Linked DNA regions of Homo sapiens: all the other regions are linked to region 1. The links are contacts of gene promoters, found by promoter capture Hi-C in blood cells and fetal thymus (Javierre and others, 2016). All regions are on one chromosome and are shown on one strand. The core of a region is centred on a gene start or on the middle of the fragment in contact, and the rest is flanking DNA. Distances in the headings are between cores, read along the strand shown.

What was found. The method cuts DNA at HindIII sites, captures the fragments that hold promoters and counts their contacts. A CHiCAGO score of 5 or more calls a contact.
Region 2: a contact is called between a fragment that was not itself captured here and the fragment with the promoter of CARTPT in region 1, in 2 of 17 cell types (M2 macrophages and M1 macrophages). The highest score is 6.5, in M2 macrophages.
Region 3: a fragment that was not itself captured here is called in contact with the fragment with the promoter of CARTPT in region 1 in 3 of 17 cell types (M2 macrophages, M0 macrophages and megakaryocytes); the score reaches 7.3 in M2 macrophages.
Region 4: a fragment that was not itself captured here is called in contact with the fragment with the promoter of CARTPT in region 1 in 2 of 17 cell types (M1 macrophages and M2 macrophages); the score reaches 6.1 in M1 macrophages.
Region 5: a fragment that was not itself captured here is called in contact with the fragment with the promoter of CARTPT in region 1 in 2 of 17 cell types (M1 macrophages and M2 macrophages); the score reaches 5.9 in M1 macrophages.
Region 6: a contact is called between a fragment that was not itself captured here and the fragment with the promoter of CARTPT in region 1, in 3 of 17 cell types (M0 macrophages, endothelial precursors and M1 macrophages). The highest score is 7.3, in M0 macrophages.
Region 7: a contact is called between a fragment that was not itself captured here and the fragment with the promoter of CARTPT in region 1, in 1 of 17 cell types (M1 macrophages). The highest score is 5.1, in M1 macrophages.

Annotation. Positions count from the first base shown.
Region 1 is chr5:71,717,624-71,721,451 of GRCh38, forward strand. It overlaps CARTPT (CART prepropeptide), which reads left to right and starts at 1,652. Exons shown (of 3, transcript NM_004291.4): 1 at 1,652-1,829; 2 at 2,257-2,340; 3 at 2,885-3,422. The coding sequence starts at 1,671. The coding sequence ends at 2,992. RefSeq lists an enhancer at 1,790-2,676. The HindIII fragment of the contact is 2,457 bases long and covers 805-3,261 here.
Region 2 is chr5:72,204,106-72,207,933 of GRCh38, forward strand. It overlaps MAP1B (microtubule associated protein 1B), which reads left to right. Exons shown (of 7, transcript NM_005909.5): 7 at 979-3,828. The coding sequence ends at 1,134. Among named protein-coding and RNA genes, the nearest start is that of MIR4803, 37 kb to the left of the region's middle. The HindIII fragment of the contact is 6,181 bases long and covers 1-3,828 here.
Region 3 is chr5:72,124,742-72,128,569 of GRCh38, forward strand. All of the region lies in intron 2 of MAP1B (microtubule associated protein 1B), which reads left to right. Among named protein-coding and RNA genes, the nearest start is that of MAP1B, 19 kb to the left of the region's middle. The HindIII fragment of the contact is 1,722 bases long and covers 1,195-2,916 here.
Region 4 is chr5:72,098,487-72,102,314 of GRCh38, forward strand. LOC105379028 (a long non-coding RNA gene) reads right to left here. Exons shown (of 3, transcript XR_007058813.1): 3 at 1-3,828. Among named protein-coding and RNA genes, the nearest start is that of MAP1B, 7.1 kb to the right of the region's middle. The HindIII fragment of the contact is 2,049 bases long and covers 638-2,686 here.
Region 5 is chr5:72,080,412-72,084,239 of GRCh38, forward strand. No RefSeq gene overlaps it. Among named protein-coding and RNA genes, the nearest start is that of MAP1B, 25 kb to the right of the region's middle. The HindIII fragment of the contact is 4,416 bases long and covers 1-3,828 here.
Region 6 is chr5:72,060,299-72,064,126 of GRCh38, forward strand. No RefSeq gene overlaps it. Among named protein-coding and RNA genes, the nearest start is that of MAP1B, 45 kb to the right of the region's middle. The HindIII fragment of the contact is 1,655 bases long and covers 1,111-2,765 here.
Region 7 is chr5:72,037,543-72,041,370 of GRCh38, forward strand. No RefSeq gene overlaps it. Among named protein-coding and RNA genes, the nearest start is that of MAP1B, 68 kb to the right of the region's middle. The HindIII fragment of the contact is 3,462 bases long and covers 67-3,528 here.

The DNA.
Region 1 (3,828 bases), core at 402-2,901:
GATGGTTTGGATTGAGTAGTCATAGATATTTACACTGAGATTTAAATAACAGAAGTAGTGAGCCTTTTGGAAATACAGGAAGACCTTTCAAGGAGGGGTAAGTGCAAAGACATCAAAGTATGAATGAGATTGGCCTGCTAGAGGACCAGAAAGAAGGCCATGTGAGGTTGGAGTGGAGGAGTCTGGGGCAGAGTGGTAGAACATGAGGTGGAGAGGGGTGAAGATCATATAATGCTTTGCAAGTCAGGATGAGGAATCTAGATTCAGTGCTTAGTAAGATTAGGAGTCATTAGTGTATTTTAAGGGGAAAAATACTCTGGTTGGTGGTGAACTATGGAGTAGAGGAAGGCAAGAGAAGATAGGGTGGGGATTAAGTGGTAGACATTAAGTTGACTGGGGCAGCTGTCTAGGACTGGGTTGTAGTAATGGGGATGGAGAAGAGTGGATGAATTTAGGAACAGTTGAGGGAAAGATGGTGTGGTGAAGGAAGCCAGGTGAGCAAGCAGGTCTAAGCGGGAAAGCATTGCTTTTCCTACAGGAATTTTCCTGTGCATTCAGGCTGTAAGGATCTCAACTTTTAAAAAAGCCACATTGTTCTCCCAAGTTGTTGGGGAGCTGGTTCACCATTGACTTCTGATCTCTGGAGATATTTTCATAATCATGGAGCTGTCTTTCTTTTCACTCTTTTACTCTCTTTCTAGACAGGCTTCTTGGATACCAAGGGTTGGTGGTGGGTGGGGGGAGGTTCTGGGGATGGTTAAATTTGCCTGGGCAGCCTCAAAGTTCAAAAAGGAGGGACAGGGAAGCTTAGCTAAGAACCAGGAGTTTGACATACTTAATCTCTCATTTCATCCTACTGATGACTTTGTGAGGTATATCTTTTTAATCCTAGATCTACAAAAGAGAAAGCTGAGGCTTGGAGAGGTTCTTCATTTTGTTCAAAGTCATACAACTTTTACGTGGTGTAGCCAGGATGGGAACCAGAGCCTGGCTCTCTGCACTTCCAACACCACTGCTGAATCCGGGTTTGTCTGTTTTCCCTCTCTTCTTTTAACTATTGTCACACAGATTCCATCATAGAACCCATCACGTGGAGGGCCACTATTTCTCTTTCTTTTGTATAGTATGTTTGCTTCCCCTACCCCACAGAGTAAGGTGCTCAGCAAATGTGGCTGTCTGGAGGCAACACCCCCTTCTCACCGCCACACTTGGGGTTGGGGTGCGAGGCAAGGCAGGGCTGGCGAGGTGGATGTTGCAGCTGTCACCACTGCTAGGTGTTGGGAAACGACTCTCCTGCCTGTGCATTGACCCGAAGGCATTTTCCATTTCCTAGGCCCCTCCCGCTTCCCGTCCCTCACCTCTAGCCCCTCGGCTTCAGCTCAGGCCCCTCGGGGAGCATCCCTTGCCGTGAGACTGACAGCCTTTGGGGGCGCAGGGTCCTGTTCTCTGCGCTCTAGCCCATCTGTGCGCAGAGCCTCGTTCCCAGGCGCCTGGAACCCGGCGGGCATTGACGTCAAGCGCCGGCGGAGCGCTGCCTACAGACGGTTGACCCGGGCCCTCCTCCACACCCCCTTCCTTCTTCGCCTCCTCCCTCTTTCCTGCACGGGGGCTCGGGCTCACTATAAAAGGTGGGAGCGCGTGGTGCCCCAGCAACGACGAGTTTCAGAACGATGGAGAGCTCCCGCGTGAGGCTGCTGCCCCTCCTGGGCGCCGCCCTGCTGCTGATGCTACCTCTGTTGGGTACCCGTGCCCAGGAGGACGCCGAGCTCCAGCCCCGAGCCCTGGACATCTACTCTGCCGTGGATGATGCCTCCCACGAGAAGGAGCTGGTCGGTATTCCCCTCGCTCTCGACCCCCTTGAGCTGTCGCCTTGTCTCTTCTCTTGCACGCCTCCCTCCTCCCCCCACCCCCACTCCTATTCCCAGAGTCAGGGCGCGGGGAGCTGAGCGCAACGCCCAGGCACCCACTGCCATCCGAAGAGCGTCTCGAGCTCACGGGCTCCTGGCAGTCTGTTGAGCGAATCCCTCATCCCGGCCCCTCTGAGCAACAGGGACCCCAGCGGCTCAGAGACCCGCGGTCAGTACCTGGGACAGCGTCCGCTAAGTTTCCACCCCTCGACCATTCCCTGTGTCCGCGGAGTCCCACCGCAGAGTGCGTGTGGGTCCGGGGCTCCTTATAACTAGGGCTGGAAGTGCGCACCTGGGCTGGGCTCGCAGCCAAGGCGGCAACTTCAGGCTCCGAAGCGGTGTGTTGCAGATCGAAGCGCTGCAAGAAGTCTTGAAGAAGCTCAAGAGTAAACGTGTTCCCATCTATGAGAAGAAGTATGGCCAAGTCCCCATGGTAAGGTTTGTGGTCACTCCCTTCCCGTGTTTTTCCAAGAGAAAGTACACCGCCTTGAATCGTACACACAGTCTTCTCCGTAGGATGTGGCTAAATAACTTAGGTAATGGGCTTGCAGGATTCTGTGGGCTCCTTCTTCCTTCCCGGGTGAGGAAATGGGAAAGCAGGAACAGGGGTTGTAAGAAAGTGTAAGTCTATTGTTTGTTGCTCAGGAAAAAGGTCTGATTTTTTTCCCCTCTGAGAGGGCAAGAAAAGGAGCCAGGAAATGTGATGCTCCCCTTCCCACGCCCCCCAACCCTCGCCACTTAAAGGTGGAAGAAACTAGGATAAAACTAATAATGTAAGTTTCTTTAAAAAATGTACTCTCACTGAGGTTATAAGCACAAGGCTCCCTGTTTCAGATCTGACTGTACGTAGACCTCTTGTGATGGTGATGGGGTCCAATTGCCCCTTTCAAGAGACAGAAATTGCGTTGACTGTGAGACTTGCCTGTTGGGAACCTGGGTTTGTTCATACTCGATGACCACACATTTTGTTGTTTCAGTGTGACGCCGGTGAGCAGTGTGCAGTGAGGAAAGGGGCAAGGATCGGGAAGCTGTGTGACTGTCCCCGAGGAACCTCCTGCAATTCCTTCCTCCTGAAGTGCTTATGAAGGGGCGTCCATTCTCCTCCATACATCCCCATCCCTCTACTTTCCCCAGAGGACCACACCTTCCTCCCTGGAGTTTGGCTTAAGCAACAGATAAAGTTTTTATTTTCCTCTGAAGGGAAAGGGCTCTTTTCCTGCTGTTTCAAAAATAAAAGAACACATTAGATGTTACTGTGTGAAGAATAATGCCTTGTATGGTGTTGATACGTGTGTGAAGTATTCTTATTTTATTTGTCTGACAAACTCTTGTGTACCTTTGTGTAAAGAAGGGAAGCTTTGTTTGAAAATTGTATTTTTGTATGTGGCATGGCAGAATGAAAATTAGATCTAGCTAATCTCGGTAGATGTCATTACAACCTGGAAAATAAATCACCCTAAGTGACACAAATTGAAGCATGTACAAATTATACATAATAAAGTGTTTTTAATAATTGCCCATAGTGCACTGCTGTTTTCATATAAGTAATTTAAGTGGAAATGGTGAGATTAATCATGCTGTTGTTTTCAAAGAAAAATATTTTAAAAATAGCAGCCTATTGGGAAAATGGCACCTTAGCTCCAAGGAGTTTTGATCGTTAATTAGAAGTTTGCCAAGCCAGTTTTAGTATACTCTATTTTTCTTTGATTGCAGCGATGTGGTGTGTGTATGTGTGTGTGTATGTGTGTGTGTGTGTGTGTGTGAGAGAGAGAGAGAGAAAGAGAGAGATGAATGAGATGGAGATGGTTGGAGTTGAGGTTATATAATTTTGTTTATTAAAACCTTTAGCCAGACCCTTTACTTTAAACAGTGAGACCAATAAACTATAAACAGTTTCATGTTTTAGTCACATTAAAAGCAA
Region 2 (3,828 bases), core at 509-3,008, 490 kb after region 1:
GAGTCTTGTGTGTGTGAATCAAAGCGGTCATATTTCCATATGAGAGCTCCTGAGGAATTGCCTTTCTTCCTTTGTGTTTTATGAGTAGACTGCGGCTAGGAATATGGCCATTTAGAAAAACAGCTCTCCATGTGAAATTCCACAGCAGGAGCATTGCTGAATATAGTCCCTCACAGGACACTCCCAACTCCCAAACATCATGCCTGACCACAAACCATCCCTTATTTATTTAATGACAGGGTCTCCCTATGTTGCCCAGGCTGGTCTCGAACTCCTGGCCTTAAATGATTCTTAGAACCAGCTATTATTAATTCAGCTGTGATCTTTGCTTATCAAGTTTTATTTGTGGTTCTGTACAAAATTACCTAGTAAATTGTGCTTGTATCATATTATATAGAATTACTTGTTATTTAATCATATGAAATCTAATGAGAGGCACCCAGTGGCTCCCTACTGAATGCTAGATGGAATTTATACTATTCAGGACATTACTTACCCACCCCATACCTCCATCCCCAACCACACACATAAAGTAAAGGTGCAGATCTTTGTTCTCAGGACAAAATGTTAGTTACTCACAATGAGTGGGCTTTTGAGGGCTTTGAAGTGCGCGATAAAATCCTTGGATTAAATATGCAATATCTTTTATGCAAAACTTACCAGTTGTGTTAAAGGAAATACAAAAAATTGTACCCTAACGGAAGCACTTCTCTTAACAGTAAAGAACTGAGAAACTGATTAATTGCTTTTTGGTTCCAGCCTTCAGTTTCCCTTAGAAACAATAGCTTTTCTTTGCAGCTTTATTCTGGTTCCTGGAAAATATACATTGAAAAATCCTTTGCATTTCTTGAGGAAAATAGAAAAGTTTTCTCTCATTTCCCTTCTTCTTCCAGTGGTCTAATACCTTGCTATTCAATTTTTTTCATATGGTTTCTGTTTCTGCCCTTAAATAGCTATTTTTTTTTTCTCTCCCTGCAGGTGACACTGATCCCAACTCATGACTCAGAAGTGATGAGGGAATGGTACCAGGAGACCCATGAGAAACAGCAAGATCTCAACATCATGGTTTTAGCAAGCAGCAGCACAGTGGTTATGCAAGATGAATCCTTCCCTGCATGCAAGATTGAACTGTAAAAACCAAGGCCAGCCACACCACAGGATCTGAACTTTGTTTCCAGAAATTCTTCAATTTGAAATCACCTTTTCTAAAAAGTCAATTCATCTAGTTAAGTCGCTGAACAATTACCTGCCAAATGCTATACTGTGTCATGGTGATGCAAGTCACTAAATTTCTCAGTTTTTGCTGATTGCTAAGGGAAATAACAGTATTTCCACAATAGGGTTCAAATTCCTGCAAAATTACCTACCCCAGTTCATCTCTGCTGAACATTTGGAAACCATGCACTAGCCAACCCAACTGACTTCTGCTAGGTAGAGGCATTTGTCTTAGAGAGAGAGAGAGCGCGGGAGAGAGTGAGAGAGAGTGAGAGCACAAAGATAACGCAGGAGAGAGAGAGAGAAAGAATGAGAAAGAAAAGGAATGCAAGAGAAGGAGATGTAATGACAGAGAGTTCTGGTGAGATACCCAGAGAGAAAAAGAGAGAGCAGGGTGGGGTAAGGAGGAGAAAATAAACCAACAATTAGGTCTGCATTTTCTCAGGCAGTAGGCATTCTTTAGTCTACATAGGCAAAGTTTTCCATTTTTGTCAGTCTGAGTCATCAAAAAGAGTCTTAATTTTCTAAAACAAGTTGGCTAGAAGAAAGTAAAAAGAACAACACTTGTTATGAGGGCATGTGATATTTTCACATCTTAATTAAGCTCCTTCAGTTTGAAGGCTGCACACTGACATAATGTAGTGAGTGTAGACTGGCCATGCAAGTGGTTTGGGCCCCATTCAGAACTCTCAGACTCTAAACACACAAGTAGATTGATCTAAGGCATGCTCCCAGCATTTGTCCACCCACTTAGTCCACTCTGAGTCGATTAACCTGCATGCAGCAACACCCAAGTCCACCCCAATTAACTGAAGCAAATACCAAAGCAGTTGGGAGTACATATGGTAGACAATTTGCCTTAGGAAGTGACTTGAATGTACAAAGATACTTGATGCACTTATTTTTTAATGTGAGACAGCAAGTTTATAAAACATCCATATAGGATTATAGATACTTAAAGGAACACGTGGGTGAGCGTGTGTGGGGGTACTAGAAGCTGATCTGATTGGTCCAACAGTTTGATGCTGAGTCATGCGTGTTGAATCCCACTTCAGTGCACCTGTGGCCTCTCAGTCAAACAAGTTGTGCCTTTCACAGCTTCTTTACTACTGCAAGTTCAAGACTGAAATGGCTTCTATGATCAGAACTGGGAAAACAGTGAATCTTATGGTGGAAGAGGTTCTCAGCAAGTGTACAGTATTTACCTTCCTTTGTCTTACATTGGCTTTTTAAATTTTCCATTAATTTCAACATAATTATGGGAACAAGTGTACAGAAGAATTTTTTTTTTAAGATATGTGAGAACTTTTCATAGATGAACTTTTTAACAAATGTTTTCATTTACAGGAAATTGCAAAGAAAATTCTCAAGTGATAGTCTTTTTTTTTAAGTGTTTCGTAAGACAAAAATTGAATAATGTTTTTTGAAGTTCTGGCAAGATTGAAGTCTGATATTGCAGTAATGATATTTATTAAAAACCCATAACTACCAGGAATAATGATACCTCCCACCCCTTGATTCCCATAACATAAAAGTGCTACTTGAGAGTGGGGGAGAATGGCATGGTAGGCTACTTTTCAGGGCCTTGACAAGTACATCACCCAGTGGTATCCTACATACTTCTTTCAAGATCTTCAACCATGAGGTAAAAGAGCCAAGTTCAAAGAACCCTAGCACAAATTTGCTTTGGGATTTTCTTTTCTGGAAAAAAAAAATAAAAGAAATAGTACATTGAAAACAAATGAATTCTCAACTCCTACGGTTCATGTAGAGTTTAGAGAAAATTTCCATCATTGTCATCATTGAACTGTGAACCTGGGAAGCCAGATCATGATTAACACTGACATCAAGTTTCAAGTTGCAGATCAATGCACCCAGTGTTCAGATGAGGCAAACTTCTCCGTGACAACTGTGCTGTGCTCTGTCACATTACATTTCCTGCAGACTCTAAGATCTACGGAGTAGAGAACAATGACCTCATTTTATTTTCTATGTTAGTTATTTATTTCAAAATTAACATTTTAGTTGATTTTTGTCTGATAAGTCTATGTTTTGCACTGCTAACTATGATGAGGGTTTAAAAAAATGCTTCTTCAGGGTCCTTTCACTGAGGACCTATGCAGTCTACTTAATGCTGTGAATTACATTTTTCAAATGTTTAATTTTTTAAAGAAAATTAATATTCTATTTTTGTTAGGCTTCTCTAGAAATGCAGCTTTTATTTATTACCCCATTTCTTTCAAGTCCTTGGAAAATAACATATTAAGGGTACAAGAAATTAACACATGATGGAAAAGTCATTGTGACGCCAATGAATTTCATTGAGTATAAACTCATCTACTTCAAATTTATTTTATAACACAACCTAAGATACTCAAGATAATTATTTAATGGTTAGCTCTTAAGTTGAATTGGTCTACATAATGCGTGGGAAGAAAACCAGATTTTTAGCCTTCTTGCCAAATCCAGACCTCTGGTTGATTTTTCTTTGACAGAAGATGCAAGTTATTTTCCAATTTCACAATTAAATGTATTTAACCTGAACATTATTTTGCTTTAAAAACTATAAACATTGTAGGAGAATTATAGCCAGTCTTCAGTTATAACCACTCC
Region 3 (3,828 bases), core at 806-3,305, 410 kb after region 1:
AACACGCCACTGTTGAGCATTGTGGCTCAAATTCAGATTTCTTGTTGGCTTCTCACGTGGATAGTGCGAGGAAGGAACAGCTATTCCCCTGAGGGAGCAACACGTTTTTAGTGCACCTGGCCCCAGGAACACTGCTCTACATAGATGTGGCTTTTTGGATCCTGAAGTGTATCCATCAATGGGAATGTCACATTTGGAGAAGTTATCCTTATTGCAATAAAATTAAAGATCAAATAAGTTCTGGAACCCAGGCGAACAATGCTTCCTTAGTGCAGAGCCATTTTGAGCAGTTGTCTCTTGTGCCTTTTAAAAACCTCTCACTTGGAAGTTTTGATGTGTGAAAGATGTGAAAACTGCCTAAGAGAATTCTTCCTCTTTTTAATGGAGCTCGATGCCTGTTTAGGGATGATGTAGCAACCGCTTTTTTATCTAGAATTCCAGATAGTTTCCCAGCTCAAATACTAGGAGTTTTTGGTGGTGCAATTCAATTGAAAGTGGTATTTGGTGTGAAGTTCCAGCAGCCCCACAAGATGCTCAAGTGCCTTGTAGTTAGTTTAGTATAATGTGCATATGTGTTTGTGTGTGTGTGTTTGCATACATGAGAGAAAGAGAGAGAGAGAAAACCTTATCTGTTCTCATCTATTATAAAGGAGACAATCCTTTCATTTTATATGGTATCTCCTTTTGAAGGTGTCCTGTTAGTGTCCTATTATCAGCCAATCTGTCATTAAATATTTATGTTCCTGCAGCAAGGCACAGTTCAGTTCCTAGCTCTGCAGGCCATAAGAAGACTTGTAAGTAAATCCTGTCTTCAGTTGTTTACAATTGAGTATGGAAATAAGATAACTAATGAAACAAGCCAGTCTATAATAAGTGCCAAATGAGAATTTTGCAAGGAGGTCCTTCTGTAAATTCTATTTGTTCAGGCTATTTTAAAAAAATCTGTGTGCATAAAAAAAGCATTAAAATAATATTATCCATGCAAATTGGGGCATAAATGCAACAGATCCTAATGCACTGAATCATCTTTGTGACCAGGGAATTTTGAATCCAGCCTGAATTAAAATATTTCCTAGTTTGGAGCTACATTTTAGATTAAGCCCATTAATTCAATGATGAAGAGTTAGAATCGATAATTTAAGAATTCACCCTTCTGAAATCATGTGAGAACAAAACTCCTGACCTGGATGTATAAGCTTAATTTCAAGATTGTCTTTATCTTTGAGTGCTGGAAAATTGTCCATTGGCAGACTCTGAAGACACTAGGGAAGAGATTGTGAAAGTGAAATGTTTTAAGGAAATAAATGTGAAGTAATTGTTTCACTGCCCTGAGGCTAGAATGGGTACTTTGGAGAGTGTCTGATTCAGCTGTCCCTGTGTTGAGGGAAGCAGGGAGGGGACACCAATTGCAAGCTGCTTTCCAGGACCCTTCCCCCTCCGGAGAGACCAGGAAGCCTGACCTAGTGCAGCAGCTCTGGGCCACACCTGAGAGCATTGTTGCCCATGGTGCTCCCTGAAGAGCTGCTGTCAGTCCTTTCCTTTTCTGTAAAATAAAGGGATTAGGCTAGATCAGGTCATCTTAACTTTGTTCTGCCAGCCATTAGTTCTGCAAAACATTAATAGTCAGTGGAAAAGAATTTCATGGTGACTTAAGTTTGAAAACTGTGACATACTCCATCTAATTTTTTGAGGAGGCATAAATTGTATGTGTATAAACTTGTTCAATTTTGTCTAACCATACATTTCCTTAGCCTATTTGACTAGTCACTTCTATCACCACTCTCTCCCATGGATCTAGATTCCTGTAAAACACAATCTGGGAAAGGATGGATTAAATGATTGCTGAGTCCCTTCCAGTTTTTTTATTCCATTATTCTATGAATTTTTACTAAATTGTCTCATCACTCGTATGTAGATGGGAGCTTGTCTTACTTCATTCAGCTTACAATGGCTTTTAATCCAGGCTTTAAAATATCAATGAAAGAATTTCATTTAGAAAAAACTGCCTGTCCCATCCATGAGTATTCTTAATTTTAGGAAAGATGCACAGCTTTATGACACTCAGGCTGATTTCCCAGTTTGGGAATTCTTGGCCCTGGCTTTTCCCACCTGTCTTTACCTTGCAGACAAACCAAACAAGACAAAATTTAATCATGTTTGCACAATGTCAAACACTTGCATAGAGACTATCCCCAAAGTCAGCTCATGGGTGTTTTATCTTCACAGTGCCAAATAGGAAATAGCTACATATGTTTCCCATTAAAATGAGAATTTCCATGTTGGTATCTGGTGTTGCATTGAGCTTCAGGTTAGCTGCTTATTCACTGATCTTTGGAAGGAGGCTGAAGATTGAACCTCAAGAGTTCTAGGGATTATCTGCAGGTTGAAGGTGTTAAAAGTCCCAGGCACATTGTTTGTTATCGCTAACTGCGGATGGCCTGAATTTTAATAAGCATGGTCAACTGTGCATATCTTGTCATGTGAACTACCAATTAGCACACCATAATTTAGCAAGTTAGTACATGCAGATATGAACACCCTTGGGAAGGAAGCAATTTTCGAATCAGATTATTACTGACAGTGTACAATTTACATGCAGGTAATCATTATCAGAAAGTCATGATTATCCAGAAGGAAAAGTGATTTTTGTGGTAATATATCTTTGAATGGCTGTTGATTTTTAATACCTTTAAGGTAAAAACTTCAATTTGTTCCATCCCTAATTTGATCATATTTGCAAAAAAGTGTTAATTCACTCATTAAAACCTAGGCGTCTGATGGGTACAGCAAACCACCATGGCACGTGTATACCTATGTAACAAACCTCCACATTTTGCACATGTATCCCAGAACTTAAAGTATAATTTTAAAAAAGTTAAAAAAAAACCTAGGTGTGATATTATGTGTTTACAACAAAGCTTACCAAGTATTCTAAAATAACAGAAAGAAATAATTTATGTACAATAACAACATTAATGATAATATATCCATGGATAATACGTTTTGGTTAATCAAATATTCTAGCTAATTGAGAGTTGCCAATAATCCCTCGTGGGATTATTATTTTTCAAAGTTGTAGAATCCAATAATACAGTCATTTCTTTTACACAAACACCTAAAATTTATCTAGAATTAACTTAGAATTTCCTAAACCAAATTTATACATTAGCCCAAGATATACTTAAATTATTTATAGAAGACATGAACTTACAAATCTGTTGTTTCTTCTCCCACCCAAATAGAATAATATCTTCAAAGACAGTCTTTTTTTAAAAAAGGACATATTGTTCCCCTTAGGTAGATACTGGCATTTTATTGAAATATAGTTCAAGAGACATGCATTCAGGCAAGATGAGTGCACACCGTGCTACCTACTTGGAACCCAAACTCAGAACAGTAGAATTGAATCTTCCTTGGAAGACTCAGGAGGAAGATCATCTCTCTGTGCCTCAGGGTCCTCATGATGAACCTATTGGTAATTATACTGTAAACATGAGGGTGTGCGGATTAGTAGCGATTTCTTATCACTGAATCATTAGTGAGCAAACTATTTATTTTGAGGTGGTGTCCTCAATACTAATATGATTGTGCTTCAATATAGAACAAGGAATATCCCTGGATGTTATAGTCCTTCTGAAAAAGAGTCATTGATTGCAGATATTGTTTTAAAAAAAAAAAAAAACACTCAAAACTGCTACAGAGAAAAAAGAAAGTGTGAAAAAAGAGACCATGGCTATCTTCTAGGTTATTCGAAGAAAATACCTGAGTTTGCAAGTATGCACTAGCTCACTGCATTTGCACTGTCCTGATGTGCATACAGTGGGGTGC
Region 4 (3,828 bases), core at 412-2,911, 380 kb after region 1:
ATTATCAAAAGACTGGAAGTCATCATCAACAGAGGAGTGATAAAAATAGAAGAGTGATAAATTATGATATTCACACAAAATGGAATTCTATGCATTGCTCAAAAAGCAATAGGGATACTCCTTATGATGGTTATGGAAATATTTCAAAGATATGGTAAGTGATAAAAACAAGATGACAGAACAGTTTGTTCAGTGTGCTGCTGTTAGTATACAAAAGAAAGGAGGAGTAAACTGCTAGCTATTTTCAAGAATAAGCTCAATATATTTCTACCAGTTCTTTTTGCTCATGCTGTTCTGTTCATGTAGATTGTCCTTTCTCCATCTCTGCCTGTTGAAAAATATTGTTCTTCCAGGACAATTTCAAATACTTCTTCCTCTATGAACCTTTATTGATCTCCTGAGTTAAGCACTCTCTCAGTTGAACAAATCTAAAATTATTAGGAGAATAGTTTTAAGGTTTGGAATGAGAGATCCTTTCTAAGACAGACAACCCCCATTAACTCATAAAGAAAGAAGCTTAGCCTAACCTTATAAGAAATTTAATAATTTGTATGGTCACAGACATAATAAATAGACATAAATACAAAATCTGATGACACACTGAGAGGAAATATCTGCAACATATATTGATGACGAAAGCTTATTATCCAGATTATATAAAGAGCTTCTAAAAGCCAGTAAAGATAAAAACAATAGTCCAATCAGAAAAAAGACACATCTTGAAGAGTTAAGCCAATAAAGAAAGAAAAGCAGTTTAAAAGGTGCTCAGTTTTAAACAGTAAATATTTCTCTCCCTTTGGTGAGTAAAAAATAAGAAGACTTACATTATGATGTGGGGAAAGAGGCAATGATGTGGAAGGAATATAAATTGTTAAATTCTTTTCAGAGGGTAATTTGGCAGGAGTCATCAAATGTTAAAATTAGGTATCACCTTCAACCCATCTGTTTGGCTTCTAGATCTAGGCATCTGTGCTCAGAGAAACATATATGAGTATAGAAGCACTTACAAGCATGGTCATTGCACACTATTTATAATAGAAAAAAACCAAACACCACCTAAAGGACCACCAAGAGGGGAAAGAGTAAAGGAAATATGGTAGATTCATTCTATGAGCTACTGTGCAGCAGTTTTTAAAAATAGATTTTTACATATTTGAAAAGAGCTTCAAAGGGAAAATGCCATTTGAAGAACAGTATATAAAATATTGTTCTATTTATATGGGGAAGATACATGTATACAGTCAGCCCTCCATATCCACCAGTTCTGCATCTGTGGATTCAACAAACCATGGATTGTAATTATTCAGAAAAAAATATATAAAAAAAGAATGGTTGAATCTGTTCTGACCATGTGCAGACTTTTTTCTTGTCATTATTTCCTAAACAATACAGTATAACAACTATTTACATAGCATTTACACTGTTTTAGATATTATAAGTAATCAAGATTATTTAAAGTATACAGGAGGATGTGCGTAGGTTATAAGCATCATTTTATATAAGGAACTTAGGCGTCCCTGAATTTTGGTATTCACAGGGGACAGAGTCCTAGAACCAATCCCCTACATATATGTGTACATTCTACACACACACACACATGCACACAAAATAGTTTAGCCTCTAGGAAGGGGAAGAGAACTAGGGGTAGCAAAGAAAGAACTTTCATTTTCTTCTTTATACATTTATAGGATGTTTTTTGTTTTTCTTGTTGTTGAAGGATAGTGATGTGAAGGACCCAGTTCACACAGTTAGGAAAAGGGACTTGATTTCAGTCAATTGGCCTTCCAGTGTGATATTTTTTTTCCACTGTTCCACCAAAAGAAAATAAGAGGCACTTTCGGAGTCAAGGATGATTGAATAGAAAGAAGTATAAGATATTTTCCTCTGGCTATGAAGTTCACTATGGAATTTTCAGAAACATGCCTCTTCTAACTAACCTAATAGCCACTGTTAAGAGTTAGGCCCATTTAGTTTATGGGCATAGAGAATGGCTGCAGCCATCAATGACATAGCGTATAGATTATCCTTTTAAAATGTTCTCTAATACTTCATACCTTGTAAGTCTTTTCCCTAATTTTCCTTTTGTTTCTTTCCCCAGGCTCTCTGGAATTTTTCTATAGCTAGCTTAAAGTTTGGAAAGAAAGGACTGATAAATGCTGAGTAAACAGACTATTTCTTGACCCTTAAATGACATACTGTCTTAAGTTACACTCTAGAGAATGACTTTAATTCTAACTAACAACACAACACTGGAGGTTCATTCAATGTGAGATTTACTCTGACTGTTTTATTCTTCCCACCAATCAACACTTGGGCTGTGCTTCATTTCCTTTATTTGCTTTAAATTCAATAGCATCAGTGAAGGTACCATATAGGGGAGGTCATAGACTTTGAAATATGACATAGCAGAGTTCTTTTCACAAGTTTTCAACTTACTATCTTTGTGATTTGGAGGAATTGTCTAACTTTTCTCCATGTCAGTTTTTCATCTGTCAAACAGCAATAATAATAACTAATGGCAAAAAAGAAATCACAATGACATTAGAAAATGTTATGAAATGAATGATAATGACAATAAAGACACAACACATCAAAATGTGTACAGGGCAGCTAAAGCAGGAGTTAGAAATATTTAGCCTTAAATGTATTTATCAGAAAAGAAGGAAAACTGACAATTAATTACTTAAGCTTCTCAAGCAGCTACAATAGGAAGTAAGATAAAACCCAAAGAAATTAGGAGCAAAACAGCATGGATAAAAACAGCTTCAATGAAAATATATATACACATACATAAAATAGAAAACTATCAATAATGTCAAATGTAGGTTTTTGTAAAGATTAACAAAATTGATAAACCCCTAGCTGGACTGATCAAGAAAAAAACAAAGAAAATACAAATTATCGAGATCAGAAATGAGAAAGAGACATCAATACAGACTTTAAGCCATCAAAAATATAAATAATACCAGTGGGAATTCACTGAAGTACTTTAAGCACCTAGCACACTACCATGGCTCATAGAAGCCATTCATTTAGTCATTGAATATGCTTTGACTGAGCATATGCCCTATGCTGAGCAAGAGGAATGCTAAGGTATATGGGTGGCTGGGTGGGTGTGAAAAGGGTGTGTGGGGGTGGGGATAGACATGTTCTTTGCTCCTGTGGAGCATAGAGTTCAACTAGTCTTTTCTTTATAAATTACCCAGTCTGTGGTAATCTGTTACAGCAACAGAAAATGGACAAAAGTAGTGCTCTCATCAGGAGGAAAAGCAAGGGAAAGCCTGTGTTGGAGGGAAGGATGGTTTGGCACAAAGTCATTGTGGCTGATGCTGGAAAGTAAGGGCAAGTGGAGGGGCCAGATGAAGCTGCTGAGATAAATGGGGACCAGCTTGTAGGTGACACTGAGAAGTCTGGTCTTTATTCTAAAATGGGGAGCCATTTGTGTTTTAAGTGGAGATGGGGCAACAAAACCAGATCAGAAAAGATCATTCTCCATATTGTGTGAAGCATGGATTGGGTGAGTCATTGTGGATATACAGATGCCAGTAAGGTGACTATTGAGGTTGCATGGGAAAAAAAAATAGCTAGACCTACTGTTTACAATATAAATTAAACTGGAAATAGCTCAAATGTTCACCAACAATGGACTGGTTGAGTAAATTATAGTAAATAAACATAATGGGTTACTATGCAGCTATAAATAAAAATGAGGAATATTAACATATATTATTGTAGCGTTATAGCCGGGATATAGTGTTTGATGAAATAAGCAAAGTGGAGAAAATTGTATGTATATGCTGCTACTTGCATTTTTAAAGTGAAAGGCTA
Region 5 (3,828 bases), core at 383-2,882, 360 kb after region 1:
CTGGCCGCACCTTGCTTTTTTTCATTTTACAGTATATTTTACAGGTCTTTTGATATCTGTCCATAAAGAACCTTCTCTTCTCTATGGCCACGTAGTATTCTGCCATGCGAATGTACTATTAGTTCTCTATACTGTCCCCTATGGTTGGGCAATTATTTTCTATGGTTTAGCTATTCAAATCTGGACTAGTCACTGAGAACAGTTGGGAATCTGTCTACTTGGAGATATTTAAAAATGAAAGTTATCACATGGACACATAGAGGGGAACAACACATACTGGGGCCTATCAGAGGGTAGAAGGTGGGAGGAGGGAGATGATCAGGAAAAATAACTAATGGGTACGAGGCTTAATACCTGGGTGATGAAGTAATCTGTACAACAAACCCCCATGACACACGTTTACCTATATAGCAAACCTGCACATGTAAGCCTGAACTTAAAATAGAAGTTAAAAAAAAAGAAAGTTTAAATTGTACCTATAGGAGAGTGTCCCTGACAGTCCCTTTTCAACAAAGATGGTGTCAGCTGACGACTGCTGAAAACATGGACCCAGAATCCTCCACAGCAGGCCCTAAGGCACTAGGTGGCTGCTAAGAAGGATTCATTCACCTTTACAGCATTTTAAAAAATGAATGTGAAAACTTTAATATAGTATTTGATAATAACTTAGAAACATATCCACGTGTGCTCAAATGAGGGTTATCCTAACGTTTGCATTTAAAGCACTATAGTTAACACATTAAACCCCAGAACACATTTGACATCTGTTCCATGCTGCCATTGCGCTTAACCTGGGAACCTTCCCTTCACCTTATGGTGTGCATTTCTAATGCAGTAGAGAAGGATTCATTGCCTTCTAATTCAGAGCTTTAAAGAGTCAAACTGAAGCTATATTGATTAGCCTTCAACAACATTTGAGCTACATTTAATTATAGTCTTCAAATCAATTTCCCCATTTTGGAGCTACATTATTTATATCACTGACATAATAACATCTATTTTTGATAGATCTCAGAACCTTGCCCCATCAGCCATATTGCTAGAACAAAGGTTCTTGGAACATGTGCTGTAGGGGGAAGTGGAGGCAGGTGGAACAGCACATCCTTCTGAAATCCAGTTTGGAGAGCTGGACTTGAAATAAATGGCTCAAGAAGAACAGCTGGTTCAAGTTCTCAGTTAGATCACAGAGCACAGTGCTTTTTCTGGGGCTCACTCTTAGAAGCCTGTGAAGTAACCGAATTGTGCACAGGCCACTAGGAGATGCCAGCCGAGAGGTCACTTTGCCTGTGTGCTGTGATTTCCTTTATGGATGAGAACTGAGGCCAGGTGCCTCAGCTTCCTCTCATTGAAGTCCCAGTGCCAGGCATGTTTTTATAAGACATGGGTAAAACAAGCAAAGAGCTTCTTTTTCCCATATGCCTTGGTTCTGTCTCTAAGGCCCATTAGTCCCACCAGCCACCTCACCCACATGGTTATGCTTTCACCCAAGTGCCTTTGGCCATGCTGGCTCATGGCTCTAACCATCACCTGGTGAGGAGGATGAACCCTAAATCTCAGGTTATAAGGAGGGCAGCTGGCCTTCAGGTCTTTGTCCACAAAACCCAGGGCTAGATATACATGGACAATACCCTCTACAGAGGCTGCATCCCCTGAGTTCTAATCTTCATTAGAGAGTCTTAGAATTAGAATCTTAGAATTACCTTCACCAACAAGATCTGGAGACAAGTCATGTCAAGCACTGCTCTTTCTCACCCTCCCACACCTCCACTCTCAGAGCCTGGTCCTCTGAGATGCCTAACTTCCTTTAGAGTATTCCACCTGTCCCACCACACCCTGGGCACTAGAGGGCTAGCAACCAGGCATGATGAGGAGACAGTTAACAGGAACATTTCCCTGAGTTCATTACTCTTGTTCTGCTGTGGTCACTGTGACCCTCGAAGAAGACCACAGGAGAAAAGACTACACTGTGAGTGGGTGGCTGTGGTCTTGGTGGGTGTGACTATGAGTGAAGAAAAGAGGTAGAGCCAAGGGTTAAGGAGCTGACTTGGGGACTACAACATATCCCTACAGAAATTTCATCAATTTAGTCATTCACTCATTAATTTCACAAATATATATCACGTCTTTACTATGTGCCAAGAACTGTTTTATATGCTGTGGATATAGTCGGGGATGAACAAAATAGGTAATAACATTGCCTTTAGGTCACAATATGGTGAAATCATTTCCTGGTCATTTTTAGTTGTTTTAATTTTTCTAAAAATAGACACAGAAACATACATACCAAAATGCAGAGTAGCCATCTTTTTACTTTCTAATAGAAGTATATTGCAAGAAGGTGTATGCCTCAAAAACGTTAGCATGGGCTAAAAACCCCATGCTTGTAATTTCAGTTCAGTACCCCATTACAATAAGACTAGCCTCCCATAGAAAATGAGAGAAGATACAGCACTGCTCCAAAAAATGGAGGATCTTCTGGAAAATTGTTAATACATGCCAACACTTAGAACAGTAACAGACTCATGGCAAGCACTCTAGACGTGTCAGCTATCGGCATCATCATTGCCTTCATCATTATATTAGGCAAAAAGAGAAGCATATGCAAAGGTCTGAAGGTGAGAGAGAACATGGCATGTTCAAGGAGCTTAAAGGAACTTGTGATTGGTGAAAGATGGTGAGATATTGATATTGAGACCGGGAGGGGACAGACCATGGGGAACCTTGTAAGTCATGTCAAAGAATTTGGACTTTGGCCCCAGGGAGCTACTGATATGTTCTCACTGTCCTCTCCATACTCTGTAAGTTAGGGTCTCATATCCATTCCTCTTGACTTCTCAAATGGAATATTATTTGGCCTCTCTGCTTCTCCTTTTCCTCTTCTTCCATAGCCTGGTTGTAGCTGTCATAGCTTCCTATCATTCGTAAGATAGGGCTCCCATTAGCTCTCTTACTCTAAAACCTTTAGTGGCTACCCATTGTCCACAGAATCCAGCCAGTTGTCTGAATCTGTCATGTAAGCAGTGCTATGCTTTACTCTCCCTGGCATGCCCCCTACATCTAGTCACATAGAGCTACTTGTTTCCAAATGCCTCCATGCTTTCAACACCCTCCCTAAATGCCCCATCTCAATCCTGAAATCTGGCTGATCACTGAGCCCAAGGAAATGGTCATCCAGGATATTATTATAGAATCAAAACAAATCCAGTCTTTATAGCAGTAGGTTGGAGATAAAGTGGGTGAAAAGAGGGACTACACGGCAGGAAGCAAATCAAATTATCCTCCCTCCCTCCCTCCCTTCCTTCCTTTCTTCGTCTCTTCTGACAAACATCTCTGTCGGGTGGTTAAAAATACTTGGCCCAATGCCTTGCAGCTCACCTAGATGCTCTGGTATTGCCATGTTTCCCTGCTTAATTACTGTTATCAACTTTCTAGATTTTTGTAAACTCAACACAGTGAATAATGAGGTAAATAAAACTGATGAACTCCTTTGCTATGTACACAGACTATTTCTATAAAAATGTCACACGTATTATTAGCTTGGATTTAATCTTCTTCTCTTGCATCTTACAAATTTTTCCTAATGAACCTATTGGCTTTCCAGTGAGGGCATTATTTACTCAGTGTTAGATTTTTAATTCCTCTGGATTGATTACAGTCTGTGTATTTATTGCTTCTAACATTTCTGCACTGAATAATTTCCCCCAGTGAATATGCATCTGAAATTCAACAAATCAGACAGGCCTGAAGCCTGGGGCACAGCATTAACTAGTTCTGGCCAACCCTGGACCTTGGATCAGCTACTTACCCTCTCTAGTCAGTTTCTTTACT
Region 6 (3,828 bases), core at 688-3,187, 340 kb after region 1:
GGTATGTGAATTATAACCCAGTTTGTTTTTTAAAAAAGTCAAGCAATAGGAAGAATCCCTTTCAACTTCCCAGTTACAGGTGGAAGCAATTTGGTATGAGTGGGTTAGATTTTATCCAAAAAATTGACTATAGCTTCCAAACTAGAAGCAGTTTTTAGTACATGTTTTAATGCATTTACTAACTTTTTTCTGAAAGTGATGCACCTACAAGAGCATATCTTATGTATAGGCACATGAGTTGTGCCACTTAAAACAGCATTCCTCATTTCCAACTGCTTTGAGTGGACAGATGTACACACTTTGTTTTTTCTAAGCTATGCACAAACTTAAGGGCTTGCATGCACCATACATACACACTAATCTTCCTCTTTTCTTTCTTTCACAATAGTTCCTATAATCTCAAATCGGTACCTATTCAAAATTGGCCAAAAAGCCTGATAAATCTCAGGATATTGCAATCTGTGGGTGAGTCTCCAAGATGTCCACAGCATCCAAATGAAAATCAGAGTTGTGATAGAAGAATGGCTGTATAGACTCTAATCAAAAGATTGATTTTTGTGTAGTTGTTCTTTTTTAAAAAAACAAATTCTGAAAAATTCTGAGTTGTCTTTGAGAAGCAAAGGACAATGTTGAAGGGTATAAAGGAGTTAGTCAAGAATAATAAAAATAATCTCTTGGTAAAATGACTGAAGTTTGTAATATATTTACATCATAAAGACCACAATGTAAAAAATAAAATCAAAATAAGTGTCTAAAACCAACTGCAACAGCTCATTTCTCTTTTTAAAAATGAAACTGAGCATCTTATTTGAAGCTATTTTTATTTGCATTAGATTATTGCAAATAAACATTCTAAATGATAGAAAAGAGTTGTAATCATATAATTTGCTTTCAGTGTTTTTGTATTAACTCATTAGTCAAACCCTTCAGTGAAACATAGTTTACAAAAACATATCCATTTTTTTGTAAGCATATTATGAATAACATAGAGATGCTTTACTAATTTGATAATTAAGACCCAATATTTAGCTGGAGAGGACCAATTAAGTAAGAATAATTTAACTCTCTCTCTCTGTCTCTCTTTCTCTTTCTCTCTTGCTTGGCTGACTAAGCTTGGGGGAGCATAAAAGAATAAAGTAATCGTACTGCATTAGAACTAGTAGAAGACATTAGAGATTAACTTGGGGGCCATGACTACTGAGGAATTCAGTGAGTTGGCTTCATGGGCAGTCTGCGTAATCCTTAAGTTAGATGCAAAATGTTATAGGAATGTGCATAAGTGTATTTTTGGGGGTAGTGAGAATGTATAATCCTAGAAGATCAAGAAACCAATGTGCTGAAGAGTGACGGGTGAGGACAGTTGTCCTGGGACTTTGGAGGTGCTGTCAGATGGTCCTGGAAATACAGAACCAGTCCACTGCACAGCCAGAGATGACATGGGCTCAGTGATTCCAAAGCCCTTATAGTCAAGAATGTGAAATGCAGACGACCAGAGAAAAGAGCAATAGACAGTTCCTGATACACTCAGCTTACCCCGCTATACAATCTATAAGCATCCACATGTCCTCATTGGCTATGGAGATAAGTTATTCCAAAATACCATGGTCCTATCAGCCTGGAGGGTCTGGACTACTGGGAGTGTGTATATATATATATATGGCAAGGAAGAATGAGAGGTCGTGGTGCCATGGACAGAAGAAGAAAAATTAGCAAATGTTGGCTTGATAGGGTAAGCAAGGGTTTGGCTTTTAACACGTGGTATTCAAGGAGCAGACAGAACACCAAGGTTTAGTTGTTCCAAAAGCAACTGGAAAGACAGAAGTAAAGCTAGATGCTCCTACTATAGGAAAATTCTTTCCCCATCAGTGTTTCCTCCCTTTGGGATTCTCTCGATTCAACCCCATGACCACCACTGCACTCACCCCCAGGAGTGCATGCTCCTTTCCTCTACGACCTGCAGCAGTGTGCTAATCTGGTTTATTTGGGTTCATCAGAACAAAATGTTAGCCTTTCCCAATTCTGCCTTCAGTGACCTCACGTTGGTAGCCTGCAATTGGCTATGGTGGTGCAATTTCTATTTGCATCACAGAAATCAGCAAATGCTACAAATTAGTATCCCTCCTCCAAATGGGCTGTTAAATATTTACCAGCTTTTACCAATCACTGCTTATGAGTGAACAGAGATATAGAGTGTGTGGGGCCTTACACAGAATGGCCAAGGAAGATCTCACTGTTAGGGCAGCGTTTGGGAAGACTAAAAAGAGGTGATAAAATGAACCATGCAGGTATCTTGGGGAAGAGCATTCTTGTTACAGGAAACAGCAAATGTAAGGTACCCAGTGCAGGAGTGTCCTTGGTGTTCAAGGGACGGCAAAGAAGGCTAGTGTGGCTGGGGCAGAGTGAGTGAAGGAAAGAATGGTAGGGGATGAGGTTAGAGATAGATGAAGAAACGAGGGGCAAATCATGAAAGACCTTTTAGATGATAATAAGGAGTTTGGTTTTTACTCTGAGAGAAACGGGGAGACACTGGAGAGTATAGAGCAGTAAAGTGACATGAGTATGACATAGACCTTGAAAGGATTACTCCTTTTAATCCTTCATGTCAACTTTATGGAGGCTAGGACCAGAAGACTAGTGGTGGAGGGGATAAGAAGTGGTCATATTCTAGATCTGAATACAATAGAATTGTTATTAGTAAGCAGCTTTCAGCTCAATAAAAGAAATGAGTTTCTAATAGAGTTTTTGTCATCTCCAATGAAGTACCAAGCTTCTTGTACCTGGAAGTAACCAGGCAGACACTTGATATCCCTCACTAGAGATAGTATAGGAGAGTTTCCTATGTTGGGAGGAGTTTATACCCACTGACCTCTAATATTCTTCAATGGCCTGGGGCTTGGCTACACAAGAAAATGCTTGTTATAACTTGATGACTGATGATCGAGTTAGGACTAAGGGAGCAAATAGGGTTAGATATAGAAATTGAAATGGCTTCATTTCTGTAATAAATATGTTAATGGTTATTTTAGAGATATATTTATGACTTGGGCATAGGCATATCTAAGGGTTTGGGGGCAAAGTGGATGGGGGAGTAGTTTCGCGTTCGTGTCGCTCTCCGTGGTGCTGAAACACCAATGGTTAAGGGATAATGTTCTCCTAACTCCCTGACTCTTCCTACTTGGAGGTGAGGCCACCTGATATGTGCAGTCACATGAGGTAGAGGTGGGTTGAGTTGGGGAGGCTTGGGAACAAATAAAGTAAGGATGTCTTAGAATTCAGGATATTACAGCTGGAAAGGGTTTCAGGGAGTATCTAGTCCAATTGCTTAATTTTGCAACTGAGAAAACAGAGCAAGTCCACTTGTCCTAAGCAGCAGAGGTCCAGGACCTAGTATATCTCATCCTGGGATGAGATAAAAGTGAGAGGAGGCTAGTCCTGTGGGATTATTCTTAACATTTCCACCAGAAGTTTCTACTACTTGAGTTCTCCCTCATCGTGTGACCCTATTCACCACACCAGTGAATAAGCTTCCTCAGAAACATGTCCTGGTTTGTGCATGAATTTCCCTGATTTATACCTGGAAGCCTCCAATCTGGACTAGACATCCTTAGTTGTAATGGACTCTCTGGTTGATGTCACCCCAACTTCCCAGGCTTCTATCAATGACCTCTACTTTTTATTAATGTTACCATGCGTCTACTTGGTTTGTCATACTTTCTGAAGTACTAGAACTTGACGGAGCTGGGTATGCACTAACATGTTATACTTGTCCTTGTGTGGCTGCTTATTGAGGCTGTAGGTCTGCCGTTTGGTAGAATACAATTAACAAGA
Region 7 (3,828 bases), core at 548-3,047, 320 kb after region 1:
ACGCACACATATGTGTGTAGTAATTTAGGACACGTTAGACTAAGCCTGAAAGAAATAAGGCTGCTAAGCTTCAGACTCTTGACTGGAAAAAGGGAACTGCTAGCCAGAACCCAGCTGCTCTTTCCCTAGGGCAATTCTCTAACTTCAGGGAGTATGACAATCACCTGGGGAACTTCACAGACATGTGAATCCCCAGTCCCCTCCTCAGAGGTTCTGACTTAATGGGTCTAAAACCTTTTTCACTAGTTATAGTATTATTGCTTTCTCTATAAAATAGACATTTGCCATTGACTGAAGAGTGTATGTGCAAGGCCTCTCTAAGCAGCAAAGTAAGTGGGGGAAGGAATTTAGACATGCACAGCTCCAGCATGCATACATTTTCAACAGAGATGCTCAGATACTACCCAGCCCTTCTGGTTGACATTCACATGAAGCCACTGGGTCAATATAAACTGATATTTCAAGTTGGAGGTCATAATGTTGCACCTGAGGAATGCTACTGAGGGTCTTAAAAGTGTGTTTTTGCTGATGATGGAGGAAAATCAATCTCTGGCCGCCTGGAACAGTGGCCTCTTACAAGCCATGTCCAGCCATTGGTTGTTGAGGCTTAAATGGGCCAACCTCAGAGTCTCTGCCCATGAGCAAATGGCTCATTTCTTTCAAAGGAAGCAGCATACGAGGCTCTGAAGATCACATATTTTGGAAGTTTATGGCTCTTTATCATTCTTGGGTAGGAGTTTCATGTCTGCCTCTCCAGTCTTGAAAGAATAAGCCCAGGGGAACCCTTAATTCAAATGTGACCATAGGTCTCTCAAATATCTTCTAGACCAGTGTTGTCCAATTGAAATATAAAATATAATGTGAGTTATGTGTGTAATTTTAGATTTCCTATTAGCCATATCAAAAAGTAAAAAGAAAGATATAAAACATACTTTAATAATATATTTTATCTAATCTAATATATACAAAATATCATGTCAACATGTAATCAATATTTTTAAAATTAACAATAAAACATTTTACATTCCTTTTGGGGGTACAAATGTGGTGTGTATTTTATACTTAAAAAACATCTCAGTTCAGACTAGCCACGTTCAAGTACTCCATACAGCCACATGTGGTGGTAGCTACTGTACTGGACAGCACAGATCCAGACCGGGAGAGAGAGAGGGCTGAGACAGCGCCTATTCTGCACCCAGTGATGGGGAGACATGGAAGAAGAGAAGCTGATGAGTGTTGATGCATGCCCCACACCCATCCCATAAGAAAATCCCATGTTGGCTCTCCCTTCAGAATACATCCAGAATCCTGCCACTTCTCACCATGTCCACTGCTGCCACCGTGCTCCAAGCCATTATTGTCTCTCACCTGCATCACTTCTTACTGATCTTCCTCTTTCTACCCTTCCCCCTGCAGTCTATCCTTAAGGCAGCAGCCAAATCAATCCTATTGAAGTGTAAGTCAGATCATGTACCTTCTCTCTTCAAAACCCTAAAATGGATGTCCATTTCACTCAGAGTAAAGCCAAAGTTCTTACAACAGACTCTCAGGCCCTACCTGGCCTGCCTCCCCCTCCCAGAGTCACCTCTTCTTCTACTTACTCTCCCTTTTGTTTACTCTGCTTCAGCCCCACGGGCCTCTTTGCCATTCATCAAATATTCCAGAGCCTGCCAGTCTTAGGAGGAAGCTGCCTGTTCCTTCTGTGGGGATGCTCTTCCCCCATACAAGATATCTTCAAGGCTAATGCCTTACCTCCTTTGAGTTTTTGATCAAATAACACTTTCTCTCTTTGTTTTTGTTGTTGTTGTTGTTTGTTTGTTTTTGAGATGGAGTTTCACTCTTGTTGCCCAGGCTGGAGTGGAATGGCGCAATCTCGACTCACCTCAACCTCCACCTCCCGGGTTCAAGTGATTCTCCTGCCTCAGCCGCCCAAGTGGCTGGGACTACAGGCATGCACCACCACACCCGGCTAATTTTGTATTTTTAGTAGAGACGGGGTTTCTCCATGTTGGTCAGACTGGTCTTGAACTCCTGACCTCAGGTGATCCACCTGCCCTCCTCGGCCTCCCAACGTGCTGGGATTACAGGCATGAGCCACCACACCCAACCAATAATACTTTCTCTTTGAGATTTACCCTACATGGTAGTGCAAACTGCTCTCATTCCATCCAGCTCCTCCACTCTATACTATACTACTGTGTAATACACTTGTGCTGTGTTTATTATTTATTACCTGCTCCCCCATAAATGTTTCATAAAAGCAGGAATCTTTATCTGTTTTGTTACTTGCTGTATCTGCAAACCCTAGATTAGTGCCTGGCATATGGTAGGTGCTCAATAAATATTTGTTGAACAAATGACTGAATGAATGAGGTTGGAGGCATCTTGCATTTGCCTCCCAGTAGCTCAGCCCCCCAGCAGTGACGAGGACTCTGTACCACCCTTCTCAGTCATCTTCCTCATCTTCCCACCACATTGCAAAGCCTTGGGAAGAAATAGGATTAGAGTTAGGTACTCATCCTAACTAAATGAACTTTTCCCTTGGAACAATAATTCTTTCCTGTTTCTTTTTGTGTTTGTTTTTTAATCACAGGCTCCTTGTGAGGTTGGTGGCAGCTGTGAATGTTCTTCCCCAACAATTTCACATACAATTTCTGGAGGTTCATAGACCTCTGATGCACACCAGAAGAGTCCAGGGACCTCAAATTAATAATGTGTGCCCCAGAGGTTCACCCAAGTGTAGTTTTCCTATCCGTCTTTGAAATCAAATCTTTCTGCTGCTGCAAAAATAGAAACCATATCCAGAAAGAAATTACAGAGCCAACAGCAAACTTGAATGGTAATATAGTTTATCTTTTCACCTGCAGATAGCTCTGAGCTGTCTGCTCTTCCTAGGAAAACTCCACTTCATGGGGAGGTAGACCAGTAGATCACATCCAAAAGTTCTTTCTCATTCCTTATCTAAATTGCTCCTGCTTTAAGATGAATCTGCTTTCTTTAGCCAGATCTCCTGGGAAAACAAAAAACCAAGTACTTATCTTTAAAAAGTATTAGGATGTCCCTGTTCCCTTCCCCAAGTCCCTTCAGGCAAAATAAACAGAGTGATTGGCCTATTCTAAACAAGCTCACTGAAAATGCCTTTTCTCAGCAGGGTTCAAGCTCTGGCCTGAGCCAGCCCAGGAATGAGTCTGAAGAGACCCAGAGAAGCAAGCACTGAAGGACAAAGGGAGGCCCTGGGGTCCCCTCACAGATCCCTAGAAGAGAGGATACTCATCTCCTTTGCCTGGAAATGTGGCATATGATGACTAAGAAAGACACAAAGCAGGGGTTCTTTAACATCCTTCCCTAAAAGTGGCTGTCAGAGGCATGATGCTGTCCCACAGACTCTGCCTGTCACTAAAGCCCATTCTTAGTGTGGGGACAGTTAATCAGATGGTAATCTTCAAACACCCCTTTGGTCAGTGGAATGGGAAAAAAGATGAGTTTACAGTATTCTGGATTTTAGCCATTCATTGACTATAGCCTGAAAGCTTTAAAAATGCTTTACAAAATAAATACACAGAGCTCCTTTTCTGAAGCATGATTAAGTCAGAGGATAGTAAAACTCCCTGGCCCAGAACTGAAACCTTCCCATAATTATTGAAATCAAATGAAAGCATGACAGTCTGTGTCTTCACAAAGCAAAATCTATTCATTAGGCAATAAAAAGCAGTCTAGAATAAAACACAGAGTTTATATCAGAGTCTCATCAGAGGATTTGGACAGAAATTGTTCCATCAATATTTTTTGTTGGAATTGCAGTTTATTTATAAGGGAATTGCCAAGAGC